2 separate regions of the Homo sapiens genome follow, and region 1 is linked to region 2. The links are contacts of gene promoters, found by promoter capture Hi-C in blood cells and fetal thymus (Javierre and others, 2016). All regions are on one chromosome and are shown on one strand. Each heading gives the region's core, a stretch centred on a gene start or on the middle of the fragment in contact. The rest is flanking DNA. Distances are from core to core; before and after follow the strand shown.

Region 1 (7,357 bases), core at 3,379-5,878, 1.3 Mb before region 2:
TAACTTTTTAATAACAGTTGTTCTGAATGGTGTAAGATGGTATCTCATTGCAGTTTTAATTTGAATTTTTCCTATTATTAGTGATGTTGAGCATTTTTTCATGTTTGTTGGCCATTTGTATATCTTATGTTGAAAAATGTCTGTTTTTATCTTTTGCTCACTTTTTAATGGGCTTAATTTTTTTTTTTCTTTTTCTGGTTGAGCTGTTTCAGTTCCATGTAGATTCTGGGTGTTTTTTGCTGGATGTACAGTTTGCGAATACTCTCTCCCATTCTGTAGGTTGCTCACTCTGTTGATTATTTCTTCTGCTGTGCAGGTGGTTTTTATTTTAATTAAGTACAATTTGTCTATTTTTGCTTCTGTTGCATTTGCCGTTGAGCTGTTAAGCATATATTCTTTTCCTAGACCAATGTCCTGAAGAGTGTTTCCTAGGATTTCTTCTATAATTCTTATAGTTTCAAGTTATACATTTAAGTATTTAATCAATTTTGAGTTTATTTTTGTATGTAGTGAGAAATAGAGATCTATTTTTATTTCTTCTGCTATCCAATTTTCCCAGCACCATATATTGACTAGAATAAACTTTCCACATCATATATTTTTGTTGACTTCCTGAAAGGTAAATTGGATGGAGGTATATGATTTTGTTTCTAGGTACTCTAATATGTTCCATTATTTATGAGTCTATTTTTGTACTAGTAACATGCTGTTTTGGTTATGACAGTGTATTAGTCAGGGTTCTCTAGAGGAACAGGACTAATGGGATAGATGTATATATGAAAGGGAGTATATTAAGGAGTATTGACTCATGTCATCACAAGGTGAAGTCACAAAATAGGCTGTCTGCAAGCCGAGTAGCAAGGAAGCCAGTCCGAGTTCCAAAACCTCAAAACTAGGGACGCTGACAGTGCAGCCTTCAGTCTGTGGCTGAAGGCACCAGAGCCACTGGCAAACCACTGGTGTATGTCCAGAGTCCAAAAGCTGAAGAACTTGGAGTCTGATGTTTGAGAGCAGGAAGCATTCAGCATGGGAGAAAGATGGAGGCCAGAAAACTTAGCCAGTCTAGTCCTTCCATGTTCCTCTGCCTGCTTTTATCCTAGCCATACTGGTAGCTGATTAGATGGTACCCACCCAGATTGAGGGTGGGTCTGCCTCTCCTAGTCCACTGACTCAAATGTTAACCTCTTTTGGCAACACCCTCACAGACACACCCAGGAATAATACTTTGCATTCTTCAATCCAATCAACTTGACACTAAATACTAACCATCATATACAGCATTGTAGTACAATTTGCAGTCATAAAATGTGATATGTTCAGCTTTGTTCTTTTTGCTTACAATTGCTTTGGCTCTTTGGGTTCCTTTTTGTTTCCACATGACTTTTAGGATAGTATTTTTTCTAATTCTGTGAAGAATGACGTGGTAATTTAATCAGATTTGTGTTGAATCTGTAGATTGCTTTAAGCAGTGAGGTCATTTTAATGATTTTGATTTTCCAATACATGAGGGGAAGTTTTTCCATTTGTTCATGTCATCTATATCTTTCTATCATCAGTGATTTGTAGTTCTCCTTATAGAGATCTTTCACCTCCTCGATTAAATGTATTCCTAGCTATTTTTATAACTTGTGGCTATTATAAATAAAATTGAGTTGTTGATTTGGTTCTCAGCTTGAATATTATTGGTGTATATGGAAACTACTGATTTTTGCATGTTGATGTTGTAGTCTGAAATTTTACTGAAGTCATTTATCGAGTCTAGTCTTTTGCAGCATTCTTTAGGGATTTCTAAATATAAGGTCATGTCATCAGAGAACAGATCATTTGACTTCCATTTTTCCATTTTGGATGCCTTTTATTATTATTATTTTTTCTTGCCTGATTGCTCTGGCTAGGACTTGGCAGTCCTAGGATGTTGAATAGGAGTGTTGAGAATAAGATATCCTTATCTTGTTCCAGTTCTTGGGAGTGAGGTGCTTTCAACTTTTCCCCATTTGGTATGATGTTGGCTGTGGATTATCATATAAGGCTTTTGTTATCTTGAGTTATGTTTCTTTGATGCCTCATTTGTTGAGAGTTTTTACAATGAAGCAATGTTGGGTTTCATTGAATACTTTTTCTGCATTTATTGAAATGATCATGTGGTTTATGCTCTTAATTCTCTTTATGTAGTAAATTTCACATTTTCTCATATGCTGGGCCATCCTTGTATCTCTGGAATAAAACCCACTTGATTGTGATGGATTATCTTTCTGACATATGGTTGGATTCAGTTTGCTAGTATTTTGTTGTGAATTTTTACATCTATGTTTACTAGCAAAATTGGGCTGTAGTTTTCTTTTTCTGTTGTCTCTTTGCCTGGTTTTGGTATCAGGGTGTTATTGGTTTCATAGAATGAGTTAGGGAGGCATCCCTCCTCCTCAATTTTTTTGAATAATTTCAGCAGAATTGGTATCAGCTCTTCTTGGTGTGTTGGGTAAAATTTAGCTATAAATGCCCCCAGCCCTAAGCTTTTTTTATTAGGAGATTATTTATTACTGATTCATTTTCATTATTCATTATTGGTTTGCTCAGGGTTTCTATTTGGACCTGCTTCAATCTTGGGAAGTTGTATGTTTCCAGAAATTTATCTATTTTCTCATGCCTTTCTAGTTCGTGCACATAGAATGCTCATAGTTGTCTCTGATGATCTTTAGTATTTTCTTGGTATCAGTTGTAATGTTACCTTTATCATTACTGATTGTGCTTATTTGAATATTCTATCTTTTTTGCTTGGTTAATCTAGCTAGCTGACTATTAATTTTGTTTATCATTTCAAGGAAACAATTTTTCATTTAGTTGTTATTTTGCATTATTTTTGGGGTCTCAATCTCATTTAGTTTTGCACTGATATTTGTTGTTTTTTTATTCTGTTAGCTTTGTGTTTGGTTCATTTTTGTTTCTCTAGTTCCTTGAGGTGCAAAGTTAGGTTGTTAATTTGAGAACTTTTTCTTTTTGAGGTAGACATTTAGCAGTATTAGCTTTCCATTTAACACTGCTTATGATGTATTCCAGAGGTTTTGGTATATTGTGTCTCTATTTTCATTTGTTTCCAAAAATATTTTTATTTCTGCCTTAATTTTGCCTGCTTACCCAAAGGTCATTCAAGAGCAAGTTTTTGAGTTTCCACGTACTTGTGTAGTTTTGAGAGTTCCTCTCTGTTTTGACTTTTAATTTTATTCCACTGTGGTCAAAGAAGATACTTGATATTATTTCAAATTTAAAAAAAAATTGAGACTTGCTTTATGTCCAAGAATATGGTCTATTTTGGAGAATGTTCCATGCACAAATTAGAAAAATGACTATTCTGTGGTTGTTTGGTAGAATGTTCTGTAGCTATCTATTAGGTCCATTTGTTCCAGAGTCCAGTTTAAGTCCAGAGTTTATTGCTTTTCTGCCTCGATGATCTGTCTAATGCTGTGAGTTGGGTCTTGAAGCCCCCATTATTATTGTGTTGTTGTCTACCTCTTTTCTTAGGACTAGTAGTTTGTATTTTATGAATCTTTGGGCTTTGGTATTGGGTACATATATATCTAGAACAGTTAAATCATCTTGTTGAATTTGGCCCTTTATGGATTATATAATGGCATTCTTTGTCTTTTTTCACTGTTATTGATTTAAATTCTGTTCCATATAAGCATAGCTATGAATGCTTATTATTGTTTTTCATTTGTATGATATATCTTTTTTTCACTCCTTTGCTTTAAATCTGTGAGTGTCTTTACCTCTTAAGTGGGTCTTTTGTAGACAGCAGATGGTTGGATTCTTTTAAAATCCAATTTGCTAGTCTATATCTTTTAAGTGGAGCATTCAGGCCATGTATGTTCAAAGTTAACATTGATGTGTGAGGTTTTTTCCCCATTCATAGTGTTTTAAGTTAGATGCTTTGTAGTCTCAATTATATAACTGCTTTTTAGGGTTTTGAGCATTGTAGTTATGTATACTTTTACAATGGAAAGTACTGTCCTTTCATTACCATGTTTAAAACTCTTTGAGCGTTTCTTGTAGGACTTGTCTAGTGGTGATGAATTCCCTTGGCATTTGCTTGTTTGACATAGACCTCATTTCTCCTTCATTTATGAAGCTTAGTTTGGCAGGATGTAAAGTTCTTGGCTGGCATGTTTTTCTTTAAGCAGTCTAAAGAAAATAGAGCCCCAATCTCTTCTGGCTTATAAGGTTTCTACCGAGAAGTCCACTGCTAATCTGATGGTATTTCCTTTATATGTGATTCAATGCTTCTGTGTAGCTGCTTTTAAGACTTTTTCTTTCACCTTTCACTTTGACCTTGGATAGTCGGATAATTATATGCTTTGGTCATTTTCCTCTTGTATAGTGTCTTTCAGGTGTTCTCTGAATATCTCGTGTCTGGATGTCTATATCTACAGCAAGATCAGAAAACTTGTAATTAAGTATTCCCTCAAATATGTTTCCCAAACTTCTTACTTTTACTTCTTCTCCCTCAGGAATGCCTATAAGTCATAGATTTTGACCCTTTACGTAATCCCTTAATCCCATATCTCTCCAAGGCTTTCTTAATTTTTTTCAATTATTTTTTTATTTTTGGCTGCGTTATTTCAAAAGACTTGTATTTGAGCTCTGAAATTTTTTCTTCTTCTTGATCTAGTCTTGCTAAAGGATTGAAATGCATTTTGACATTTCTTCAGTTAATTTTTCATTTTCAGAAATTCTTTTTTTCCTAATATATCTATCTTGTCCTTCATCTCCTGAATTTTTTTCTATTTCTTTTTGTTGTTTTTAAATGTTCTCTTTCATCTCATTGAACTTATTTCTAATCCATATTTTGAATTCCTTATCTGTCATTTCATAATTTTCATTTTGGCTAAGCTCCATTGTTTGAGAACTTGTATGGTCCTTTGGAAGTGTCACACCTTAGTTTCTTCATGGTGCTGGAGTTCTTACACTAGTTACTTCTCATCTGGAGAAGCTATAATTATTAGTTTTGAACTTACTTTCATTTGGATGGGCTTTATTTCCCCTTGGCGGCATGTCTGCCTTGTATTTTGGATAGGGTCCTTTGTCTTTGCTTTTTTCTGCTTTAGGGGGCCAAGGCTCTGTATGAGTTCCTGGGTATAGATAAGCTTAGTGTAACAGTTTTCTCAAATGCTAGTTGTTTCTATGTTGTAGTAGTGTTTTACTATGTGTGTCATCAGGCTCCCTGCCTCCTGCAGAGGTAGGGAGGTGGAGGTCACAGGAGAATTATGTCATTCCACAGTGCTGTGTACTTCTGTCAGCAGAAATTATAGTGGAACGTGCAGTTCACCCTAGGGGACAGTAGGTGGCACTTGCAGGTAAATTCCAACCAAACGCTGAACAGTAGTGTCAGCAGAAATTGTGATGAGTTGTGCAGGTTGACCTCCTGGTCAGTAGATAGTGCTTTCAGGCAAGAGGCAGTTTCAGTGGTAGTAGTGGAATTTTTATTTGACCTTTGTTGATCAGAGGAAGCACTAGTGTGTCCCAGGTGATGTGTGAGGCCATGGGGTTTTCAGGGGTCCCCATCCGGGGTTCTGACACAAAGGGAACTAGAGAGGACAATATGAGGCAGGGTTGGATGGTACAAGTCCATAACCAGGCTCTCCAAGATGGGCTTAAGCGCTGGTTTTGGCTGGAGTCCAGGGACAGCTCTCAGGCCTTTGGAGCAACTCTTCAAGAGGGGCAGAAGTGCTTCTTTCATACCACAGAGCCCTCTCAGAAGAAAACCAGACAGGGTTTTCAGCCCAGCAAGTGGCAATGGAAACTGCCCGGCTCCCACAGCCCTAACCTGGAAGGTCTTCAGTGTCTGGCAGCCAGCAGCAGGACAGAATGGTTAGGCTAGTCTAAAGCTGTCTGCGTTCAAATCACAAAGCTATTCCGGGATTTCTAGGGTTCTAGACTCTGTGGGGCAGAAACCACAGTTACCAGGCCACACCTTTCCCATTCCAGTCTTGTAAAGGGAGGGATGCCCAGGTCCTAGGCCACTCCACAATCTGGTGCCACACTCTTCTTTGTGTTTTGACAGTGGGGGCTCCTTCCCCACTTGAGATTAGATCACAAATCTCATCTCCATTTTCCTGGATGGTGTGTTCAAGTCTTAGGGAACTGGGACCAGGCCAGAGGATTTGCCAGGAGCTCAAGCACCAGCCTGGATATGGAGGGACAAACTGCTCCAAGGCTGCCAACAACTCAACTGGGGTGGGGCAATGGCGGCTAGGTTGTGGGCCCATCCTCTGTGGGAATGGCCTAGCAGGCAGTTTTGGGAGAGACTGGCAGGCACGGGGCCCATGATTCAGATGGAGTCTGTCTTTGGGGCCCGTAAAAGTGACCAGGCCCTGCTCATTCCCTGGCCCAGCAGACAGCAGCAGCTGCAGAAGCTTAGGATACAGAGCCATGTGACGTAGGCACCCACAGTCATGCTTTGCTGCAATGCTCAACTCATGGAAGGCTTTGAGGCTCCACATGCGTTCAAGCAGCGACTTTTCATGGTTACCAGGTATCTCCATCTACCAATCCAAAGATCTTCAGGTGTCAGAAACCTTCATAGCTAGAATCTCAGAGGTCCACAGTAGGAATATGATACCCTGGGGTTCCTTCACTGACTCCTTTCTCGGGTCTGGATCTGGGTCTTGGGCCCAGTCCTAGTATCTGGCAATGCTGAGCAGGCAGCCCTACTTCTTCCCTCTTAACCACAATTTCTTCCATCACCTCTCTTTTGAATTTTAGTGCTCTCTTTCAAAAGATCTGTTCAAAGTGTGAAGATTGTCATGTTTTGTTTCCTCCCCACGGAAGAGGTGCATTCTAACTGCCTCTCACCAGCCATCTTGAACTCACATCCCGGTCTTACCTATTTCTAAATAAAAGCCTGTATGTAGGCAACAGAATAAACCTGAAAAATATTTAATCTGTAAGTGATTTAAAATATTTTCCAATATTAAATTATTAAATAATTCAATATTACAATATTCGATATTATATTTTAATAATATAAATAGAAATATATTTTTATAATACTGAATAAAATTTGAAGTTAATTCCACAATTTGATTATCAATTGATAATGAGTACTTATTTTCTTTCATTGTGCATTGTTCAATATTGCCTCCTTTATTTCAATAATGACATTTTCACCCTTTACCTTCCAACTCTGTTCTCTTTGCTAAGATCAGCATTCTCTCTGCCATCAATGTTCTCTCTAAGATACTATAATGCAGGAGAACATTATATTCAGCAACCTTTAATAGAAAGAGTTACTTTGTTGAGTCTTAAATACATTCTCAAGTACCTCTTTCATTACACAGTACGTAGTGCTGTTGTAGAAATATTA
Region 2 (7,615 bases), core at 3,682-6,181:
AAAACACTGCTACAGTTTCACCATTTTGAATTATGCTGCCCAATGATTTGAGAGTAATAATCTCCTTTATCATCTTAATTCTCGATCTTCCTGTATCTAGATTACTCAGAGGTCTGACCAAGAGTGAATGTTGTATTTTACCAAATGCACTTTAGCGTCTTGTTAGAAGACCATGTGTTGGGTTTTTTGCTTATTTGTTTAGTATGTTGATAGATTTTCAAATATTAATTTGGAATTTTATTAATCCATGAAATAAATTGTATCACTTTAGTATATACAGTTTGGATGTACTTTAATTATGGTTATACCATATACATTCATAAATAAGATTATCTACAGTTTTCGTCTATCTTTGAAAGTTTGGGAAAACAAGGCTATTTTTGCTTGATAAAATGTTTCTACAAAATGTTCTATAACTTTTTCACATTGAAACATATTATACAGCACAGAAATTTTTTCTTGAAAGTGTGAAATAACTATTGTAAGCATTCTGCATCCAGTGCAAAATCCAGTCTTGATTTTGAAAGTCAAGATCTCACAATAGGATCTCTATTACCTACCATAGTATACATGGCATAGTTTCTGTTGAATAAATGTAGAATTCTGTAAGACAGATATGCACAGTTTTATGACAGTATATAAAAAGGGCATCCTCCTCACAATAGTAGGTGAGAAAGCTTTCCTAGAAAAGGTAATAGATAAGAACAATCCTTCCAGTTTAAGAAGACGCCACACACAAATGCATAATGATGAAAATGCAAGCTGGGCGCAGTGGCTCAATGCCTGTAATCCCAGCACTTTGGGAGGCCGAGGCGGGCGGATCACCTGAGGTCAGGAGTTCGAGACCAGCCTGACCAACATGGTGAAACCCCAACTCTACTAAAAATACAAAAATTAGCTGGGTGTGGAGGCAGGAGGCTATAATCTCAGCTACTCGGGAGGCTGAGGCAGGAAAATCACTTGAACCCAGGAGGCAGAGGTTGCAGTGGGCCAAGATCACACCATTGCACTCCAGCCTGGGTGACAAAGTGAGACTCTGTCTCAAAAAAAAAAAGAACAAAAAAAAAAAAAAAGAAAGAAAATGCAGTATTATGGGGAGACTGAGCAAAACTCATCATGGTCAGTGCAGAGCATTTGGGACATCAGTAGTGGCTCCAGAGTTAGAGAGAACCAGAGTTGACAATGTGATTAGAGGATGAACTAGAGGACTTTCGTTGAAGCTGCAGAGCAAGCACATATTTTCCTTTAAGTTGTATTTCTCTATTAGGATGTCTTTTGTGAGGAGACTGATGGCGATCATGGGGAAACAAAGTCCTCCTAATAATTCCTCCTTAACACAGTCATGGGAGGAGACATGGTATGAATTGGAGAAAGATACCTAATAGGTTAGGATAGGCCTGTGTAATGGGTTGATTCAGTGTCTTTGGCGAAGTTACCGTTTCCCTTTCTCTTGTTTTGATCTAAATCCTGAAATATTTCACTAACACATATAAGCTGAAAAGAATAAATTAAAATTTAAAATAAATTCTGAAACATGGACTTCTTCACCTGGGATCTTTTCTGAATAGAAAGAAAGACAGCCATTCTTCTTCCTTCATCTTTGTATCCTCGACATCCCCACCTATAGGGTAAACACATAAAGCATACCCTTAGAATGACACTGTAATGACAGAGGCACCCGAATGTGTGTTCTGATCTAGGGAATCTAGGAGTAGCCAACCCAGAGATTTGTTCTTTCTCTGTGATAAACAGCCTGTCCCAAACATGGGCCGTGCAGGGAATTGGGTCCCTAAGCTTTTGGTTGGATGAAGGTTGCCAGGTGGAGGTTGTTAAGGAGAGGATTAAGTGAAAATGCCATATAAAACTGCATGATTTTACAGGTAGTTGTGGTTTTTCTGTCCAGCCCACCACCCCTGGACTCTCTCCCTGTATGTAATTCCCTAATAAACCCCATGTCTCATTTGCTGACTCTGGGTCTCTTGGCCTTTTGCACCTGGTGCCGCCCCTATTGAGATTAATAGGGGTTTAGCACAACACCATCGCCCAAGATACAAGTGGTAAGTTTAGTGTTCTTTCTATGCTAGCACAAATTTGTTTCTTCTCCACCTCTTCTTTCCTTCCACTTTCCTCTACTTCAAAACAGCTATGCTCTATCTAATTAAAACGGCTACCGTAACTGCCCACTTTGTGGGAACAAATCCATATGCCAATGTAGATAGAGACAGGAAAAAGAAGTGCAAGACAAAGGGAATATTTTCCAACATACCAACACATTGGTATCATCTAATTTTTTTTAATCTCCTCCCAAATCATGGTGTAGGTAGTACTCTCTAAGAGGAAGACAAAGGATATGGAAAGGGAATGGAGAAACTTTTTCCCTTCATCTCCCTGGAGCCAGTACTCCACTACTCCCTGGAGCCACTACTGATGCCCCAAATGGTCTGCAAAGACCATGCTGAGTTTCTTCTAGTCTCCCCATAATACTACATTTTTCATCATTATGCAACAGGGAGCTAGGAGGGCTTGCCATCTATGACTACCCAGAGAGTAAGCATTCATCCTGTCTTCAAAGTCTCTGGATATGAAAAGGCCAAAGCAAAAGTGTGGTTGTAGGGTCAGAATAAGATCAGTAAGAAATATTCTCATTCCACAAGGAGAGCCCAGCATAGATATAGTTCTTGTGGTAATAGTGTAACAATGTATGAGAAACAGCCCTTTATATAAGACATCTTAACACAATACTTGGACATATCAATGTAATGAATATGAAACGAATGGAGCACATTGAGTTTTCAAAGATGTGGCACTAATGTTATAAATGGGAGTAGTTTCTCAAAAGACTCTATGCTGCATTTAGATTTGCAGAGTGAGGGCAGGGGCTGTGGTATTTTTGATATGTTACTGATAAAGGCAAAGGTGGGCTGGGCATGGTGGCTCACACCTGTAATCCCAGCACTTTGGGAGGCTGAGGAGGGTGGATCACCTGAGGTCAGGGATTCAAGACCAGCCTGGCCAACATGGTGAAATCCCATCTCTACTAAAAATACAAAAATTAGCTGGGTGTGGTGGTATGCGCCTGTAATCCCAACTACTTGGGAGGCTGAAGCAGGAGAACCACTTGCACCTGGGAGGCGGAGGTTGCAGTGAGCTGAGATTACACCACTGCACTCCAACCTGGGCAACAGAGTGAGACTCTGTCTCAAAAGAAAAACAAAGAAAGAAAAGAAAAAGGCAAAGGTGATGAAAAGGACTTTTGTATCATTATTCTTGATCATGCTTTTTTTCATAGCTGTGAAATCGCCTTCTACACATAGAAAACTGAGCAGACCAGGCAGGGTGGCTCATGCCTGTAATCCTAGCAGTTTGGGAGGCCAAGGTGGGAGGATCACTTGAGGCCAGGAGTTCGACACCAGCCTGGCCAATATGATATGAACCCCGTCTCTACTAAAAATACAAAAATTAGCCAGGTGTAGTGGAGCATGCCAGTAATCTCAGCTACTCGGGAGGCTGAGGCAGGAGAATCGCTTGAATGTGGGAGGTGGAGGTTGCAGTGAGCTGAGATCGCGCCATTGCACTCCAGCCCAAGCAACAGAGCAAGATTCCGTCTTAAAAAAAAAAAAAAAAAAAAAAAACAGCGAGAGAAAAGAAAAGAAAACTGAGCAGACCACAATCAAAAGCTACAGGAAAAAGTAAGTGGTCCAGCCTTCAGAGTTCTCCATCACATCACATATGATCAGAATCACAAGTAAATGATGTTTGCTGTCTCACTGTACCCCAACAGAAGATACATTTTTGTAATAGTCTTCTCTTGCGTGGAATCTGTGTAGTAACCACTGAGAGAGAGTAGTGTATGGTGGGTAAAAGGGCTGATTCTATAGCCAGATGGCTAGATATTGAATTCTGGCTTTAGTATTTACTATCTGTATGACCTTGAGAAAGTTACTTAAACTTTTCTTTGTCTCTGTTTCCTACTTTGTAAAATGGCAGTAATACTACACTTAAGAAGAGAGAATCCCAGGGCCTGGAAAAAAAGCTGTACATGCTGGGACCTAGACTCCTTAATCTCTGGAAGCTTCTAGAACAGTCCTCCAATGATTCTCAGACTCCTAACAGGTTTTTGAAAGAAGTGCAATGAAATATCCCACTGAGAACAAAAATGTTCACAGTCTGTCAAGTGTGGTTTCAAACTTTAAACCTTTTACCTTTAAAAAGCTAAATCTACTTTTCCCTTTTAAGATTGGTAGATCTAAATATTATACTATAATTCATAAAATGCATGTGTATAAAAATACATTTAATATTATATCTTGTATAAGGTAAATATAATTATATTACATATATGCATACACACACACACACACACATATGCCATGTTGGAACCATTAGGTTCTAGGCACCTAATATTTTATCTAATTCTAACTATACTCTAAGAAATAATTATTGCTTTTTCCAAGCTTACTATGAACTATCTGCAACTCAGAAAAATAAACAACTTACCAAAGCTACATCCAGGTTAAATGATATGTCACTGGCAGTCTATAAAATCTTTTAAATAGAGGCCAGCTTCATCAAAAAAACAGCTTTAAGTTCAAAATCTCTTTCTACATTTGAAAGCAGCATGTTCCTAAACTTTATTTGACACTTCCCAGAATAATTCTGGCAGTATTGGTAGCTTTGAATGTGCTGCTGTGTAGTCCTAAGATATATTGGGTTTCTCAATGTCTCAATTTTCATAATCAATAAAACTAGTACAATATCCATACTGTTTTGCTTACTGAGAGTATTCTAAGAATCAAACACAATATCGGAAGCAAATTTGTATTGAAAATTTGTAGATGTACAGATTTACAGATTTTGATGTATCAAACATTTCAATTTACCTGAATCATGTCCTTTTCTATACTACCCAGCAGGCAGGTGACCTAGAACACATGGAGACAAGAAATTACTCTGCCATGACTGAATTCTTTCTGGTGGGGCTTTCCCAATATCCAGAGCTCCAGCTTTTTCTGTTCCTGCTCTGCCTCATCATGTACATGATAATCCTCCTGGGAAATAGCCTCCTCATTATCATCACCATCTTGGATTCTCGCCTCCATACTCCCATGTATTTCTTTCTTGGAAACCTCTCATTCTTGGACATCTGTTACACATCCTCATCCATTCCTCCAATGCTTATTATATTTATGTCTGAGAGAAAATCCATCTCCTTCATTGGCTGTGCTCTGCAGATGGTTGTGTCCCTTGGCTTGGGCTCCACTGAGTGTGTCCTCCTGGCTGTGATGGCCTATGACCACTATGTGGCCATCTGCAACCCACTGAGGTACTCCATCATCATGAACGGAGTGCTGTATGTGCAAATGGCTGCATGGTCCTGGATCATAGGCTGTCTGACCTCCCTATTGCAAACAGTTCTGACAATGATGTTGCCTTTCTGTGGGAATAATGTCATTGATCATATTACCTGTGAAATTTTGGCCCTTCTAAAACTTGTTTGTTCAGATATCACCATCAATGTGCTTATCATGACAGTGACAAATATTGTTTCACTGGTGATTCTTCTACTGTTAATTTTCATCTCCTATGTGTTTATTCTCTCTTCCATCCTGAGAATTAATTGTGCTGAGGGAAGAAAGAAAGCCTTCTCTACCTGTTCAGCGCACTCGATTGTGGTCATCTTATTCTACGGTTCAGCCCTTTTTATGTACATGAAACCCAAGTCAAAGAACACTAATACATCTGATGAGATTATTGGGCTGTCTTATGGAGTGGTAAGCCCAATGTTAAATCCCATCATCTATAGCCTCAGGAATAAAGAGGTCAAAGAGGCTGTAAAGAAAGTCCTGAGCAGACATCTGCATTTATTGAAAATGTGAAAAACCTTGGGCATGCGATATCCTCAATGGGGCAAGAGAGCTTGTCTTTTGTATTTAGATACTGCAAAACCTACTGTCACGAGAGCTTGTGTGTTTGCAAAACCAACTATTAGATTCCCATTCTTTTCAACGTAGAATTTTCATGCTCATGTAACCTTCTTAATAGTGCCTTGTCTGCTGGGTTTGTAGCTGTAAGCAGTTCTGCAAACTGGCCCTATAAAAATATTGATGCTGTCCATTAAAATGAATCTCTCTCTCTCACTCAGTCTCTCTCTCTGTCTGTCTCTCTTTCTTCTCTCTCCTGCCATGTGTGTGTCTCTCTCTACTCCTCTGATTTTGTCCTCTCTCTCTATTCTGCTACTCTCTCTCCTCTCCTCCGTATATTTTCTTTCTCTTCCTTTCTTTTCTGTTGTCTCCTTTCTCAGTCACTTTGAAGTGGATATATAGTTGTTGTGCAGCATCCCTGCACAATATTGCCACCCAATTGACAGATCTGCATAATATATATTAATAGAAAGATGTATATTTTTCTTTTAATGAACCAAAGTCCCCCACTCTCAGTCTATGTTGTACATGGTGGGGCTGACCCAAACCTCTGAAAATAAAGATAAGCATGGAAGAGGTCTTGGCAAAAAAAAAAAAAAAAAAGAAAGAAAGAAAGAAAGAAAGAAAGAAAGAAAGAAAGAAAGAAAGAAAGAAAGAAAGGATGTCTAATTCCTCTAGTCATAGTGATTGGTATAGTGCAGGATGTGACCCGAGCCATACTAATTAGACTCCATCCCAGGAATGCTGCCTTTGTCAGAAAGACACACTGTTTTTTGAAATGGTGTCTAAACTGGTAGAATGTTAACTCAGAATTCCTACTGGCAACCATTGCCAATATGTGAGGACAGCATGAGAATGAAAGCAGAGCTGAGATACAGAGTGTGCTTGATGGTGTCACTTTAACTCTTGAACGCAGCTGTAGCTAAAGCCAGATTCACCGTTGCAGATTTTATTTATGAGTCAAATTAGCATTTTATGAAAAACTAATTTGACCTGGATTTTACCACATACGACAAAATAAATCCTAATATATTCCTTTGTCCTATCTTCCTCTCCATCCTCTTACATTTTAAGGCAATAATAATAATAACAAGGTATGTAATCTGAGAGGTTCCAAGTTCTCCAGCCTGTAGGAGTTCCCTTTCTCATTAATAACTAAATTACAATAATCTAACCTCTATTCTGCATTACTTCAGGCATTTCAGTCATCTCCCCAATTATTTCTATGGAGCATTTACGTTTCTAATTTTTTGTTCTCATATTTTTCATCAAATTGATTTATGGACTTCTTACCATTTTTCTCTGTGCTTCAATCAATATATTGGTACTTGAAATAACTGCATTTTGCTTTTCTACATAATGTTTTTTAGTTTAATAAACATTGTCATTTGGTGGATTATGGTAGATTACTGTGTTATATATAAATACATATAAGTAGTAATAAGCCAAATTAAGGCAGAATTCCCTTAAGGGTGTTGCATATCTGATTTTGTCCACTCTGGGGACCAGAATCATAACTGTAATAGATTAGACAGGGCTCACTTAATTCAGTTATACAGAGATATAATTCCTAGATTATATGGAACTCAGAATTTGACAAAAACAAAAATAACTAATCTATTAATCTACAGGATAAAAATTTTTAAAGCCTGGTATGGTGGTGCATGCCTGTAATCCAAGCTGCTTTGGAGGCT

What was found. The method cuts DNA at HindIII sites, captures the fragments that hold promoters and counts their contacts. A CHiCAGO score of 5 or more calls a contact.
Region 1: a fragment that was not itself captured here is called in contact with the fragment with the promoter of OR13D1 in region 2 in 2 of 17 cell types (M1 macrophages and erythroblasts); the score reaches 5.4 in M1 macrophages.

The regions. Positions count from the first base shown.
Region 1 is chr9:103,392,740-103,400,096 of GRCh38, forward strand. No RefSeq gene overlaps it. Among named protein-coding and RNA genes, the nearest start is that of LINC01492, 71 kb to the left of the region's middle. The HindIII fragment of the contact is 1,015 bases long and covers 4,122-5,136 here.
Region 2 is chr9:104,689,587-104,697,201 of GRCh38, forward strand. OR13D1 (olfactory receptor family 13 subfamily D member 1) reads left to right here and starts at 4,932. Exons shown (of 1, transcript NM_001004484.2): 1 at 4,932-5,876. The coding sequence starts at 4,932. The coding sequence ends at 5,876. LOC107987105 (a long non-coding RNA gene) reads right to left here. Exons shown (of 5, transcript XR_007061705.1): 2 at 1,549-1,621. The HindIII fragment of the contact is 5,977 bases long and covers 4,453-7,615 here.